Linked DNA regions of Homo sapiens: all the other regions are linked to region 1. The links are contacts of gene promoters, found by promoter capture Hi-C in human tissues and cell types (Jung and others, 2019). All regions are on one chromosome and are shown on one strand. The core of a region is centred on a gene start or on the middle of the fragment in contact, and the rest is flanking DNA. Distances in the headings are between cores, read along the strand shown.

Region 1 (2,927 bases), core at 230-2,729:
ATTGCATACTTTCTTCATGCCTGCCACCGTGTTAAGCTCTTCTCTGACATTGCCTAACTTAATTCTCACATAGAGTAGGTACATTATTATCCCCATGTTATAAATGTTGTCCTGGGATTCAGAGAAGTTAAGTAATTTGCCCAAGGCTGCACAGCGGGGAGGTGGCAGACCTGCACTGGGCTCTGTCTAATGCTGCACTGCATGTGTCCACTAGCCATGCCCCACTGCCCATCTGGGTTTCAGGAGAAGACAGTGCTCACACACTGTGCTTTTCACTCACTGGGTATGATGCCCCCTGAGCTGGGCAAAGGGCAAAGGGCAGGGCCCTTGAGGAATTTCGGAGAAAACGAGATGAAAGGGAAGACAGGAGGGCCTGGGGGAACACCAGGAGGGTCCCGGGTCAAGGTGGCCCTGGGACATCCGAAGGGCTGCCACTGATGTCATGGAAAAGCCCCTCACCCCACACCTTAAGGTTGCCTGTCACATTCGGCTCCTGAATCTACAATAGCCATCAAGGAAATCCACTTCCCAAGGCCGACTGTCAGGGCATTCTAGCACCTGGGTCTTTGCCTGTGTGGATTAGGGAAATGGAAGGAGTTCCCATACCGGAGCTTGCCTAAGCTGTCTCCTAGGCAAAGACTTACTGTGAGGCCATGGGGCCCCAGAGCTGGAGGAGGCTGACAGGGAGCTTGTTTCGCCCCTCACACACCCTCCACCACCCTGCTGCAGCTTCCCTAAAAGTGGCTAATGTTCCTCTGATAAAATGTTCAACTCTGATGCCACATTGCTCCTTATATTAAAAAAAAAAGGCAAAACACAGCTGAAGTGATCTCTAGAAGCACATCCAGTCATCTCTAGAAGCCTGCAAAGAGGCCTCACTGACCTTTCCTTGCTTGTAGACATCGCCTCGTCTTTGTCCCAGGGTGGCTATGAGCATCTGGACCCCCTCACCCCACTCTCTCTGCCTCCTGAGCACAGTGAACTCAGACTGACTTTCTCCAAAGAGATCCAAGCATGAAGCAAATATTCATTAGTCTCCTAAATAGGGCCATACTCCACATCATTCCTTTTTTAAGGAGAAATCTTAAATAAGATTAATGGCATAATAGATCATTTCAGGTGAGTCAAATAAAAAAAATAAAAGCACAGCATTCTTGAGAAAGAGATTAGTTTTCATAGGCAGAAGCTTAAAGGCAAAACAAAATCCCAACCCACAAACCCTAAAGTAGCATTTTATTATAGCACCAACTTAGAGAAAGGCAAGCCCAGTGATGACTGGGTATCCTCGCAAGTCTACCCTGAACTTGGGACCCATCCCCAGGTGTGGGAGTAAAGAAATCATTGCATGATTTTCAATCTGGGATCGAGCCTTGATAAGAAACCAGCAGTCCTGACCACAGAAGTGGCCCCCCACGTACCTTGGCTCTCTCTGGAGTGTGCCTCTGGAGCCTCGAGCTGCACAGTCCCCCAGCACACCCTCTTGGCAGCCAGGTCCGCCCAGCTATATAGGAGCTGCCGGGGGAGGTGGCATTCCTGCAGGTCTCCAAATAAGGCAGCCCTTCCCTCCCCGGCAGACCAATCAGGGCTTCCTGGACCACTCCTTCATCCTGAGAAGGATGGACCTTCTCATCACACTTTACTAAGGAAACCACGTGAAAATCTTGATGAAGTTCAGCAAGGCTTCAGAGGTGCCTTTTAGAATTGGAATGAGATGTGTTAGAAGGAAAATGCTTTTCCCATCAATATCTATGACAGATGTGGCTTCAACAAGCCTCGCTGGACATGCATAGTGTCCTGTACCTAAAGGCCGGCCTTGGACAGCAAAGCAGTCTTTGCTGACAGCCTCTGTGGGGAGGTTCAGCTCAAAAAGAGGGCAAGCGTTCACCTGGACCACCACGCCCTGAGGATGGGACCAACAGGGTGTGTGTGTGGTGGTGGGGGGGGGGGGCGCCGGGGGGCGGTTACACTTTCATCGGGTAGTGGGAAAACAGAACTGGTAGGTATGGGGTGGAAGACACGTGAGAAGACTTCCTGGCATGTTGGGCGAGGAATGCTTGAAGGACTGAATTAGCCCAAAGGCCAATAAGTTAAAGATCTGCGGGAACCCCGGGAGCAGAGACACATTGACACGCAGCCAGTCCCCTGGACAGGTGGTGCGGGCTGAGGGCGAGTTCTGCAGAGTGCCTTCTCCTCTACATGGTGTCCGAGCGCTGCGCAGAAGGGGCTGGAGGTGCATTCCTGGGCTTTCCAAAGCAAGAGACTCATTGGTATTGGGTGACCATTTTGGGCCTTATACAGAAGGGACTTGCTCAGGTGTCCCTGTTACAGTTAGTACTGCAAGGCAAAGTCAAAAGTGAATATGGGAGCAAGTATGGGGCCAGATTTTCCTGTAAACAGAATGCGATTTTTATGCTGAATGTGACCCCGTCAGTGTTCACGGTGGATTTGCGTCAGAGCAATTTTGCAAACCAAATTAAACGGTTGTTATCGAGAAGGACAGCAGATAGCGCCAGAGAGCTGACAAAGACCGCAGCCGGTCGGTGGGAAACCCGGGCTTCTGGGCTCTGGGTGGATTTGGGGCCTCCGGTTGGGCCTTTCTTTCTCCTCTGACTTTAACATTTGTTTCACTTCCCCACTTTTTTTTTTTTAAGAACTTTTCTATTTCCTTTCTAGAACCACAGACTTTTTGTGCTTCTGAATACACACAAAACAGAAACACAGTAGTGTAATCTTAGTACAGACTGTTTGCAAAATGGAGATGAAAAAATCAAAATCTCCTAATAGTTCAGTACCCAGAGACAAATGTCAGGACAATTTTGTTTCACATATAGATACTTAGGGCCACAGTGTTTAGAGCTAGAAAGGACTCAGAATTCTGTGGTCCAGCTCCTTTGCATGGTGAGCTCACAGGCCCAGATAGGCTCAAG
Region 2 (2,927 bases), core at 248-2,747, 440 kb before region 1:
GACAGTCTAACAGCTGTATCCACCCCAACCTGCAACCAGGAAGAAAACTGCTAAGGCTCCCCAAAACTCTGGTTCCCCTACTACTGTGAGGAGGGGGCTAGAACCCCCAACACCACCTCAGCAACCTACAACTTCTAGTCCTCAACAGCCAGGTGAACAGGATTCTGAACAAGGTTCAACCAGTCAAGGGCAGACCTACCCCTTCAGCAAGCATATGAAGTGTTAAGTAGTTGCAGGGCTAAGAAAAGACCTAAGCAAAGCCATCCTCAGCAGAGATGCCGGCTCTCCCCTGCCTTTCTTTTAAATTTAATTCAGTGGCCAGTTACTACTCTGCCTTTTAATAGCAGCAGCAACAGATGAAACAGTTGTGATTCTCGCAGCATCAAATGGCAGTGGCACAAACAGCTCAGCTTCATCATCATCGGCATATGAGCAGCCAGTCAAAAACTAAAATGAAGAAGGCATATCAACCACTCCAATATTCTGAATCTTGCATTATTTTTTCCTCTTTTTTAAAAACATAAGGGCACTGAATCACAAGGATTCTGAGTTTTTACTTCATTTTTAAAAATGTGTCAGTAATTTATACTGCTAAGATGTACAAACTTTACACAGGTGCACAACCCCATTTTTTTTAAGTAAAAACAGGGTAATTATTTAACAAACTAGGGTTGGTTTGCTTTTTAAACTGCACATAATATATATGGAAATGACCTAAAAATTACTAGAAAAATCTTTCAAAAGAACCCAGTTTGGTATATATTTTGTAGAAAAGGTTTGTGAATAATGTAACAAATACAATTTTTACAAATCTGTTTTGGGGGAAAAGAGGAACAGAACAAAGCAGTTACCATCTGCACAGGCATTATTATTCCTTTGACATCTTGCTAATAGTCTGTTAATGAACATCAAAACACCTAAAATTTTCTTCTGATGCTTTACAAAGATTCCTTACACTTGTTTACATGCAAATCATCCAAAACAAAAAGAAAAAAACTATAATATACTTTTAAATTACTGAACTATAAAATTTTAACATAATTTCATCTTCAAATGAATTTATCAAGACCATTGAGTCATTTTTTGATGCTTCTCTGTTCTACATTATCTGACATAAAATTTATGTCACACACTGGGGCCTGTTGTGGGGTGGGGGGAGGGGGAGGGAAAGCATTAGGAGAAATACCTAATGTAAATGACGAGTTAATGGGTGCAGCACACCAACATGGCACATGTATACATATGTAACAAACCTGCACGTTGTGCACATGTACCCTAGAACTTAAAGTATAATTTAAAATATATATTAAAAAAAAGAAAATGTAACACATTAGATTTCTGATATTAATTTGAAATGAATAACAAAATTTAGTCAAGTTTGTAAAGGTCTTAAATGTTTGATAAAACTTTACTACAAAAAAAAAATTCAATCTGATTTTCAAAGCGGCTCGCTTATCCTTCTGTTCCATCGCAAAGACACATGGGTTAAAGCAAGGTTTTCCTAACATCAAGTGCCTCACCCTCACCTGTGCTGAGATAACAGCGTGAAGGAGTCTCAATTCATCTTCACTGTCAGATTTAAATTTTGTTTGGAGAACCCCTAACGTATCAGCAGAGAACACAGTTTGCAAATCACTGCAAAACACCACCATATATCTCTGACAAATGAGTTATTACTACTTGAGGATGCACCTTGTAAGATACAACGATCACCCAGTATTAAATTCCTACTGTGTCCCCAAACCGCTAGCTGCTCAGAAATTGGCTGTGTTCTCATTCTGTCACTCCAACCAGAAACTGGGGTACATAGTGGTGGCTCTGTTTGTACATATCAAACCAAGATTCACAAGCTTTACTGTTAATAGAAAAGTCTACTTATAGTCTTATATCCTGAAAATATGTCATTTGACAACCTGGAGACCAGAGTCAAACAGAATCCATTATAATCTGGAAACAAGTGAAAAATCTTGGTGAGATTTTACAGGGTTGTTTAAAAAATGATGACCTAGGCCAGGCCCAGTGGCTTACACCTACATGTAATCCCAGCACTTTGGGAGGCCAAGGCAGGTAGATCACTTGAGGTCACGTGCTCAAAATCAACCTGGACAACATGGTGAAACCCCGTCTGTACTAAAAATACAAAAAAATTAGCTGGGCGTGGTGGCAGGTGCCTGTAATCCCAGCTACTCAAGAGGCTGAGGCAAGAGAATCACTTGATCTCGAGAGGCAGAAGTTGCAGTGAGCCGAGACTGTGCCATTGCACTCCAGCCTGGGCAACCAAGAGCAAAACTCTGTCTTAAAAAAAAAAAAAAAAAAAAAGACCTAAAGCAGGAGCCAATCTTTTGGCTTCCCTGGCCCACACTGGAAGAAGAATAACTGTCTTGGGCCACATATAAAATACACTAACACTAACGATAGCTGATAAGCTAAAACAAGCAAACAAACAAAAAACAAAAAACTCATAATGTTTTAAGAAAGTTTACGAATTTGTGTTGGGTCGTGGGTCAGACAAGCTTGAACTAAAGGACCTAAAATGATAATCTGTCAGTAACAAGCTCCTTCAGAAAGAAGTGAAATAAGTGCCTGCCACCTACCCCAATCTGAAGTCTTGGCCTACGGTGGTCTGCATATTTATGTCTCCCCAAAATTCATACGCTGAAATCCTAACCCCCATCTCAATGGTATTAGAAGATGGAGCTACTGGAAGGTGATTAGGTCATGAGGCTGAACCCCTCATTAATGGGATTAGCACCCTTATAAAAGAGGTCCCAGAGAAATCCTTCTTCCACCACATAAGGACTCAGTGAGAAGCCCTGGATGAACCAGAAAGCAGCTCCTTACCAGACACTCAATCTGCTGGCGCCATAATCTTGGACTTCCCAGACCCCAAAACAATGAGAAATAAACTTCTGTTGTTTATAAGCCAC
Region 3 (2,927 bases), core at 261-2,760, 420 kb before region 1:
AGAGGTTGTAGTAAGCCAAGATCATGCCACTGCACTCCAGCCTGGATGACAGAGCAAGACTCTGTCTCAAAAAAAAAAAAAAAGAAGAAGAAGAAAAAGAAAAAGAACTGAAAGCAGAGACTCAAACAGATATTTGTACACTCATGTTCCTAGCAGCATTATTCACAGCACTCCAGCCTGGATGACAGAGCAAGACTCTGTCTCAAAAAAAAAAAAAAAAAGAAGAAGAAGAAGAAGAAAAAGAAAAAGAACTGAAAGCAGAGACTCAAACAGATATTTGTACACTCATGTTCCTAGCAGCATTATTCACAATTTGGATTGTTTGAAGTTTGGGGCTACTACAAAGAACACTGCTTTGAATGTTCTGGAACTTGACTTTCAGTGAATACATGTACAGATTTCTACTGGGCAATCACCTAAGAGTGGAACTGCTTGGTCACAAAGTCTGTGTATATTTAGCTTTAGTAAATATTGTCAAGCAGTTTTCCAGAATGATTGTGCCAATCTATACTCCCTCAAGCAGTCTATGAAAGGTCCTCTTGCTCCATATACTTGCCAACCGTCAAAGTTTTCATTCTTTTTAATTTTAGCCAATCTAGTGGGTGTGCAGTTGTATCTTATCGAGGGTTTTAATTTTGCACCTCTCAGATGGCTAATGATACTAGGCATCTTTTCATGTTTATTGATCATCTGAAGTGCCCATTTTTGGCTGGGCATGGTAGCTCACACCAATAATACCAGCACTGTGGGAGGCTGAGGCAGGAGGAATGCTTGAGCCCAGGAGTTCAAGACCAGCCTGGTCAACATAGTGAGACTCTGTTTCTACAAAAAAATACAAAAATTAGCCAGACATGGTGGTGTTTGCCTGTATTTCCAGCTATTAGGGAGGCAAAGGCAGGAGGATCCCTTGATCCCAGCAGTTTGAGGCTTTGGTGAGCCACTGCACTCCAACCGGGCAACAGAGTGAGAACCTGTCTCAAAAAAAATAAAAAAACAAAGTGCCCATTTTTCTACTGAGTTGTCTTTTTATATACATTTATTTTGAAGTAATTATTTATAGATTCTAGAAATTAGCCCTGCATCAGATACATTTGTTATAAATATCTTCTCATTGCCTGTGGCCTTCCTTTTCACTCTTAATACTGTGGTTCAATAAACATAAGTTCTTAATTTTAATGTTGCTCAATTTACCAACAGTTTCTTTTATGGTTAGTGCTTTTTATACAGGAGGAATATACATCACCATGCCAATATCACACCTAAAAAATTAACAATTCCTTTATTTTAAATATCCAATATTCAAATTTACCCAATAACTTCAATTCTTTCTCTTTATTGCAGTTTGATTGGATCAGGATCCAAATTAGATCCAGAAATCATTAATATGCCTTAAGTTTTTTTTTTTAGATGGAGTCTTGCTCTGTTACCCAGGTCGGAATGCAGTGGCGTGATCTTGGCTCACTGCAACCTCCACCTCCTGGGTTCAAGCGATTATCCTGCCTCAACCTCCCGAGCAGCTGGGATTACAGGCATGCACCATCATGCCAGGCTAATTTTTCTATTTTTAGTAGAGATGGGGTTTCACCATGCTGGCCAGGGTGGTCTCAAACTCCTGACCTCAATTGACCCACCTGCCTCAGCCTCCCAAAGTGCTGGGATTATGGATGTGAGCCACCGCACTCGGCCTTAAATATTTTATTTAGGAGATAGGGTCTCACTCTATTGCTCAGGCTTGTCTTGAACTCCTGGCCTCAAGCCATCCTCCCACCTCAGCCTTTAGAGCGCTGGAATTACAGGCACAAGTGAACCAGCACCTAAAGTCTTTTAATCTATATGTTTTACCTTTCATATCTATCTCTATCACTCCCCACTCTTCCATGTTTTTTGAAATCAGAGAGAGTAGTGTGTGAAAGTGGTAAAACTCAAACTCGTTTTTTTTCCCTCTGTTCTCACACTGTAACAACAATCACAGAAGACTTCTGTGACCAAATGTTTTGGATGTCTCCCCACACACTCAACAAGCAATCAATTCTGCAGCGGACAGTAGCTGGGTACCATCCAATTCAATTCACTTCAGCCACTATTTGCCTAGAGATAGCTTCAGAAACCACAGGTTGAGAGCTCAGTCCCACATGACCACCCCCTCTTTTCCATCAGTTGTAGATCTGAGGCTCAAGAATTTCTGATCTACCAGTTTCAAGCTGGAGTCCCCATCACCCCCCACCCAATACAATATTGTATATTGGATACAAATATACAATATTTGCATATTGGATACAAATATACAGCCAGATGAAGAGATATATAGGGAGAGGTCTGGAAGAGTCCCCATTGCAAGAGCTTCGGAGTCTCCAGTGCAAGAGCTTCTGTCCCAGTGGAGCTGGGGTGCACCACCCCCCCAGCATGTGTTCACCTTCCTGTAAGCCTCCACATGTTCAGCTACTCAGGAGTTCCCTGAACCCTGTCCTCTAAAGCCTTTTATAGAGACTTCATTAGATGCACACATTGCATGGACAACCATGCAGAAATGTGACTAAACAAAAAGGATACTATCTAATACTAATAGACTAAGTGGGGAAACCCAGCAAGGCCTGTCTGTTCAGATTCTTCTTAGCCTCCCTGTGCAGCAGTCTTTCCTCCAGGATATAGGGTTTTGAAATGAGGGTCTTATAGCAATCAAACAAGGAAAGCCAGATAATTTTTTATGGCCAGCTCCAAGATAGAAAGGCAGGAGAAGATTCCTGCCTTGGGGAGAGAAAGGAGCAGGAGAAAGGGGAGGAGGAGATGGTCAGAGAGGGAGATTTTATTTTTGGAGGCCTGCTTCTGAGTTTCCAAGTGCCCCAAAGTTATAACAAGAGACTTTAATAAGGGCTTTCAGAATTATAAGCCAGGAAATCACAGACATGGAAAAAGAAATTTACACACAC
Region 4 (2,927 bases), core at 234-2,733, 320 kb before region 1:
TCAGGGTGGATTTTTCTATTTTTGCAAAGAATGTCATTGGGATTTTTGATAAAGACTACGTGAAATCTATAGATCACTTTGGATAGTTTTGACATCTTAACAATATGAAGTCTTTCAATCCATAAACATAGGGTATCTTTCCATTTATTTATGTCTTTTAAAATTGCTTTCAGCAATGTTTTGTGGTTTTCATTGCACAAGTCTTTCAATGACTATTTTATTCCTTTTTTTTTTTTTAGAGATGGAGTTTCGCTCTTGTTGCCCAGGCTGGAGTGCAATGGCACGATCTCAGCTTACCACAACCTCCACCTATGGGGTTCAAGCGATTCTCCTGCTTCAGCCTCCCGAGTAACTGGGATTACAGGCATGTACCACCATGCCCAGCTAATTCTGTATTTTTAGTAGAGAAGGGGTTTCTCCATGTTGGTCAGGCTGGCCTCGAACTCCCAACCTCATGTGATCTGCCTGCCTCAGCCTCCCAAAATGCTGGGATTACAGGCGTGAGACACCGCACCCAGCTGTATTCTTTTTATGCTATTATAAATAGAATTATTTTCTTAATTTCATTTTCAGATTGTTCTTTGTTAGTATATAGTAACACAACTGATTTTCATGTATTGCTTTTGTGTCCTGCTGCTTTGCCAAATTTGTTTAGTAGTTCCAAAGGGTTTTTTGTGGAATCTTTAGGGTTTTCTAAGATCATATAATCTATGAATAATAATTTTCCTTCTTCCTTTCCAATTTGGATGCATTTTCTTTCTTTCTTCTTTTCTTTCTATTCCCTCCTTTTCCTTTTCTTTTTTCTTTTCTTTCCTTTTCTTCCTTTTTGCCTAATTGCTCTATCTAGAAATTCCAAGACTACGTGGTATGGAAGTGGTGAAAGTGGGCATTCTTGTCTTGTTCCTGATCTTCGAGGAAAAAGTTTGTCTTGCATCATTGAGTATGATTTAACTATGGGGTTTTCATATATGGCTATCATATTGTGGTAGTTTTCTTCTATTTCTAGTTTGCTGCATTTTTTTTTTAATCATGAAAGCGTGTTGAACTTTTTCAAAAGCTTTTTGTGCATTGACTAAGATGATCATGTGGTTTTTGTCTGTCATTCAGTTACTGTTGTGCATTACACTTACCGATTCTGGGATTGATTTTAAAGCATTCATTCCTCCAAACACACTCCCAGGGTTAGGTCTCTTACCTCTGCATGTATTTAGGAAAAAGACATAATATGACCAACTTCCCAACTATTAAACCATGTTTAGGATAAACTGTATTTTGTTATGGTGCCTTATTTATTTATTTATGAGACGGAGTCTTGCTGTGTCACCCAGGCTGGAGTGCAGTGGCGTGATCTCGGCTCACTGCGACCTCCGCCTCCCAGGTTCAAGTGATCCTCCTGCCTCAGCCTCCTGAGTAGCTGGGATTACAGGCACGCACCACCACATCTGGCTAATTTTTATATTTTTAGTAGAGACAGGGTTTCACCGTGTTGGCCAGGCTCGTCTCGAACTCCTGACCTCAGGTGATCTGCCCCACCTTGGCCTCCCAAAGTGCTGGGATTTACAGGCGTGAGCCACCGACCCTGGCCTGGCGCCTTCTTTTAAATAAGTTTTTTTTTTTTTTTTGAGATGAAGTCTTGCTCTGTCGCCCAAGCTGGAATACAGTGGTGTGATCTCGTAACCTCTGCCTCCCGGGTTCAAGCAATTCTCTGTCTCAGCCTCCTGAGTAGCTGGGATTACAGGTGTCCGCCACCATGCCCGGCTAATTTTTGTATTTTTAGTAGAGATGGGGTTTTGCCATCTTGGCCAGGCTTGTCTTGAACCCCTAACCTCGTGATCCACCCGCCTCGGCCTCCCAAAGTGCTGGGATTACAGGCATGAGCCACCGCGTCTGGCCCTTTTAAATAGTTTTATACTGCATACTATATTCAGTCTTTAGTGGTAGATGAATTCTTACTCTGTTGTTGCGTGCCCTGGAGAGCATAGTTCCTTGGAGACACCAAAGGAAGATTTTTCCAGGAAGGTCTTTTGGGAAGGGGCCTCCTCCAAGAAGGGAGTGAGGAAGGAGGTAGATTGAGTCAATGCACTTTTCCTCTATCTGGTCAGAGTTCTTGAAGGTATTTTTCTTCTGAACTTGGGTGGGGTTTGCAGTGGGGTAGGGGAAAAGAGAAATGATTCTGACACATACAAGAAAATGCTCCTTTGTGGGGCACGGGGGCAGGAGTTGCTTCCAAAAGGACCCAACAAAGACCTGTAGGGAACGTTTAAATTTATCTGTGTGTGGCCGGGCATGGTGGCTCATGCCTGTAATCCCAGCACTTTGGGAGGCCAAAGTAGGTGGATCACCTGAGGTCGGGATTTTGAGAGCAACCTGGACAACATGGTGAAACATGGTGAAACCCCGTCTCTACTAAAAATACAAAGTTAGCCCGGCATGGTGGCGCGTACCTGTAATCCCAGCTATTCGGCAGGCTGTGGAAGAAGAATCTCTTGAACCTGGGAGGCGGAGACTGCAGTGAGCCAAAATTGCGCCATTGCACTTCAGCCTGGATGACAAGAGCGCAACTCTGTCTCAAAAAATAAATAAATAAATATCTGTGTGAACTAGCACTTGAGAGACTGCAGCCTCAGGCAGTTTTCAGCCCTGTGCACACAATGAAATTACCTAAGGGGCTTAAAAAAAAATACGGAAGCCTGGGTCCCACCCCAGAGGCTCTGAGGGAAGTAACCTGCAGTGCAGTTTTTAACCATCCACAGGTGTTCGTCATGCAGCGCCAAGGTTGGGTAATGAAGAGCTGACATTGATTGAAGCTTACTCTGTGCCAAGCTCCATTCTACAAGTTTTACTTCACAATAACCTTACAAGACAGGTCTACTGTTATCCTTCATAGAGGGCCATTGAGGCACAAAGAGGTTAAGTGCTGGCCAAGG
Region 5 (2,927 bases), core at 317-2,816, 270 kb before region 1:
ACCCGCTATTACTAACTGGTATAGAGCAGGTATAAAGCAAGTATACTGCTTGCAGTTTGTATGCTGTGGGTTGTTTTTTTTTTTTTTTTTTTTGAGATGGAGTTTTGCTCTTGTTGCCCAGGCTGGCGTCAGTGGTGCGATCTCAGCTCACTGCAACCTCCTTCTCCCAGGTGATTCTCTTGCCTCAGCCTCCGATGTAGAATTACAGTCCTGTTCCACCATGCCTGGCCACTTTTGTGTTTTTAGTAAAGACAGGGTTTCACCATGTTGGTCAGGCTGGTCTTGAACTCTTGACCTCTAGCGATCCACCTGCCTTGGCCTCCAACAGTGCTGGGAATTACAGGCGTGAGCCACTGTGCCCGGCCTTGTTTTTATAATAAGATAAGAGATGGAGGCCGGGGCAGTGGCTCACGCCTGAAATCCCAGCACTTTGGGAGGCCGAGGTGGGTGGATCACCTGAGGCCAGGAGTTCAAGACCAGCCTGGCCAACATGGTGAAACCCCCACTCTATTAAAAAAAAAAAAAATTAGCTGGTTGTGGTGGTGCATGCCTGTAGTCCCTGCCACTCAGGAGGCTGAGTAGCATGGGAATCAATTGAACCCAGGAAACGGAGGTTGCAGTGAGTCGAGATCGCGCCACTGCATTTCAGCCCAGGCCACTGAGTGAGACTCTGTCTCAAAAAAAACCATAAAATAAAATAAAAAATAAGCTAGAGATGGAATCTTGCTGTGTTGCCCAGGCTGGCCTCCAGCTCCCAGCCTCAAGTAATCCTCTGCCTTGGTCTCCTGAAGTGCTGGGATTACAGGGATGAGCCACTGCACCTGGCCAGTCTGTATGTTTTATAACCTGTATTAGTCAGGGTAGGTAATGCTAGTTAAAATCTGTGGCCTGACAAAGAAAACATTTATTTCTTGCTCACACTTTTTTAGATGGTTCTTTTCTAAGTGGTGACTTGGGGATCTGGGCTCCTTCCATTTTTGTCACAACTGACAAGAAGATGTGACCTTAAGTTTGCCGTGTAATTTTGTGCATGGAAGTTTTTTTCATGGGCCAAGCTTGGAAGTAGTAGTATTTCTTCTGCGGTCTGTTGGCTGTATTTTAGGTGCAAGGGGGCTGGGAAGTGGAGTCCTTTGGTGTGTCCGTGAGGAAAATGTAATAGCACCGTGTCTGCTATGCTACTTAACCAAACTCTGTTGTTCTTATTTTTCAGTAGATTCTCTTGAGTTTCTTAGATAGGTAATCATAATACACATTGAGCATTTCTAATCCCCAAATCTAAAATGGGAAACTTTTGAGCACTGACAGGATGCCACGAGTGGAAAATTCCGCACCTGACCTCATGTCATGGGTTGCAGTCAAAACTTTATTTCATATGCAAATTTTTTTTTTTTTAAGGGATCTTGCTCTGTCACTCAGGCTGAAGTATAGTGGCAAGATCATGGCTCACTGCAGCCTTAATCTCCTAGGCTCAAGCGATCTTCCTGCTTTGGCCTTCCAAAGTGCCAGGATTACAGGTGTGAGCCGTTGCACCTGGCCATTATACACAAAATTATTTAAAATATTGAGTAGAATTACCTTCAGGCTATGTGTCTAAGGCGTATATGAAACATAAATGAATTTTGTGTTCAGACTTCGGTCCCATTCTCAAGATATCTCACTATATATATATGCAAATATTCCAAAATCAGAAAAGATACAAAATTTGAAACACTTCTGGTCCCAAGCATTTTATACAAGGAATACTTAACTTGTAGCTGCAAATGATCATTTTGTCTTTTTTTTTCCTCCTTCCTATAGTTAGCTATTTCTTTTTCTTTTTTTTTTTTTTGAGACGGGGTCTCGCTCTGTCACCCAGGCTGGAGTGCAGCAGCGATCTCGGCTCATTGCAAGCTCTGCCTCCCAGGTTCAAGTGATTCTCCTGCCTCAGCCTCCTGAGTAGCTGGGACTACAGGCACCCACCACCATGCCCGGCTAATTTTTGTATTTTTAGTAGAGATGGGGTTTCACCACATTGGTCAGGCTGGTCTCGAACTCCCTCCTGACCTTGTGATCCACCCGCCTCGGCCTCCCAAAGTGCTGGGATTACAAATGTGAGCCACCGCGCCCGGCCTAGTTAGCGATTTCTTTTCCTTTTCCCTTTCCCTTTCCCTTTCCTTGACAGAGTCTCACTCTTGCTGCTCAGCTGGAGTGCAATGGCGCAATCTTGGCTCACTGCAACTTCCACCTCCAGGTTCAAGCGCTTCTCCTGTCTCAGCCTCCCTAGTAGCTGGGATTACAGGTGCCTGAACACCTGGCTAATTTTTTTTTTCTTTCTTTCTTTTTTTTTTTTTGAGACGAAGTCTCTCTCTATCGCTAGGCTGGAGTGCAGGGGCGCGATCTCAGCTCACCACAACCTCCATCTCCTGGGTTCAAGTGATTCTCCTGCCTCAGCCTCCCGAGTAGCCGGGACTACAGGTGTGTGCCACCATGCCTGGCAAATTTTTGTATTTCTAATAGAGACAGGGTTTCACTATGTTGGCCAGGCTGGTCTCTAACTCTTGACCTCATGATCCACCTGCCTCAACCCCCCAAAGTGCTGGGATTACAGGTGTGAGCCACTGTGTCCAGCCAATTTTTGTATTTTTAATAGAGACAGGGTTTCACCATGTTGGCCAGGCTGATCTCGAACTCCTGACCTCAGGTGATTGGCCCCCCCTCGGTTTCCCAAAGTGCAGGGATTACAGGCGTGAGCCACCACACACGGTCAGCTACTTTTTGTTTTTGAGGTGGAGTTTTGCTCTTGTTGCCCAAGCTGGAGTACAATGGTGTGATCTTGGCTCACTGCAACCTCCGCCTCCCTGGTTCAAGCAATTCTCCTGCCTCAGCCTCCTGAGTAGCTGGGATTACAGGTGCCCACCACCAGGCCTGGCTAATTTTTTTTGTATTTT

The links. Contacts are between HindIII fragments. The study calls those that stand out against the background at their distance.
Region 2: a contact is called between a fragment that was not itself captured here and the fragment with the promoter of PRND in region 1, in 1 of the 25 tissues and cell types used here (spleen).
Region 3: a contact is called between a fragment that was not itself captured here and the fragment with the promoter of PRND in region 1, in 1 of the 25 tissues and cell types used here (lymphoblastoid cells).
Region 4: a fragment that was not itself captured here is called in contact with the fragment with the promoter of PRND in region 1 in 1 of the 25 tissues and cell types used here (lymphoblastoid cells).
Region 5: a fragment that was not itself captured here is called in contact with the fragment with the promoter of PRND in region 1 in 1 of the 25 tissues and cell types used here (spleen).

Annotation. Positions count from the first base shown.
Region 1 is chr20:4,720,461-4,723,387 of GRCh38, reverse strand. PRND (prion like protein doppel) reads right to left here and starts at 1,479. Exons shown (of 2, transcript NM_012409.4): 1 at 1,419-1,479. RefSeq lists an enhancer at 2,557-2,776. The HindIII fragment of the contact is 13,371 bases long and covers 1-2,927 here.
Region 2 is chr20:5,157,557-5,160,483 of GRCh38, reverse strand. The region is part of intron 1 of CDS2 (CDP-diacylglycerol synthase 2); the gene reads right to left. Among named protein-coding and RNA genes, the nearest start is that of CDS2, 32 kb to the right of the region's middle. The HindIII fragment of the contact is 3,264 bases long and covers 1-2,927 here.
Region 3 is chr20:5,140,924-5,143,850 of GRCh38, reverse strand. The region is part of intron 1 of CDS2 (CDP-diacylglycerol synthase 2); the gene reads right to left. Among named protein-coding and RNA genes, the nearest start is that of CDS2, 15 kb to the right of the region's middle. The HindIII fragment of the contact is 5,707 bases long and covers 1-2,927 here.
Region 4 is chr20:5,044,099-5,047,025 of GRCh38, reverse strand. No RefSeq gene overlaps it. Among named protein-coding and RNA genes, the nearest start is that of SLC23A2, 44 kb to the right of the region's middle. RefSeq lists a silencer at 1,568-1,787. The HindIII fragment of the contact is 5,043 bases long and covers 1-2,927 here.
Region 5 is chr20:4,988,138-4,991,064 of GRCh38, reverse strand. The region is part of intron 1 of SLC23A2 (solute carrier family 23 member 2); the gene reads left to right. Among named protein-coding and RNA genes, the nearest start is that of SLC23A2, 12 kb to the left of the region's middle. The HindIII fragment of the contact is 6,103 bases long and covers 1-2,927 here.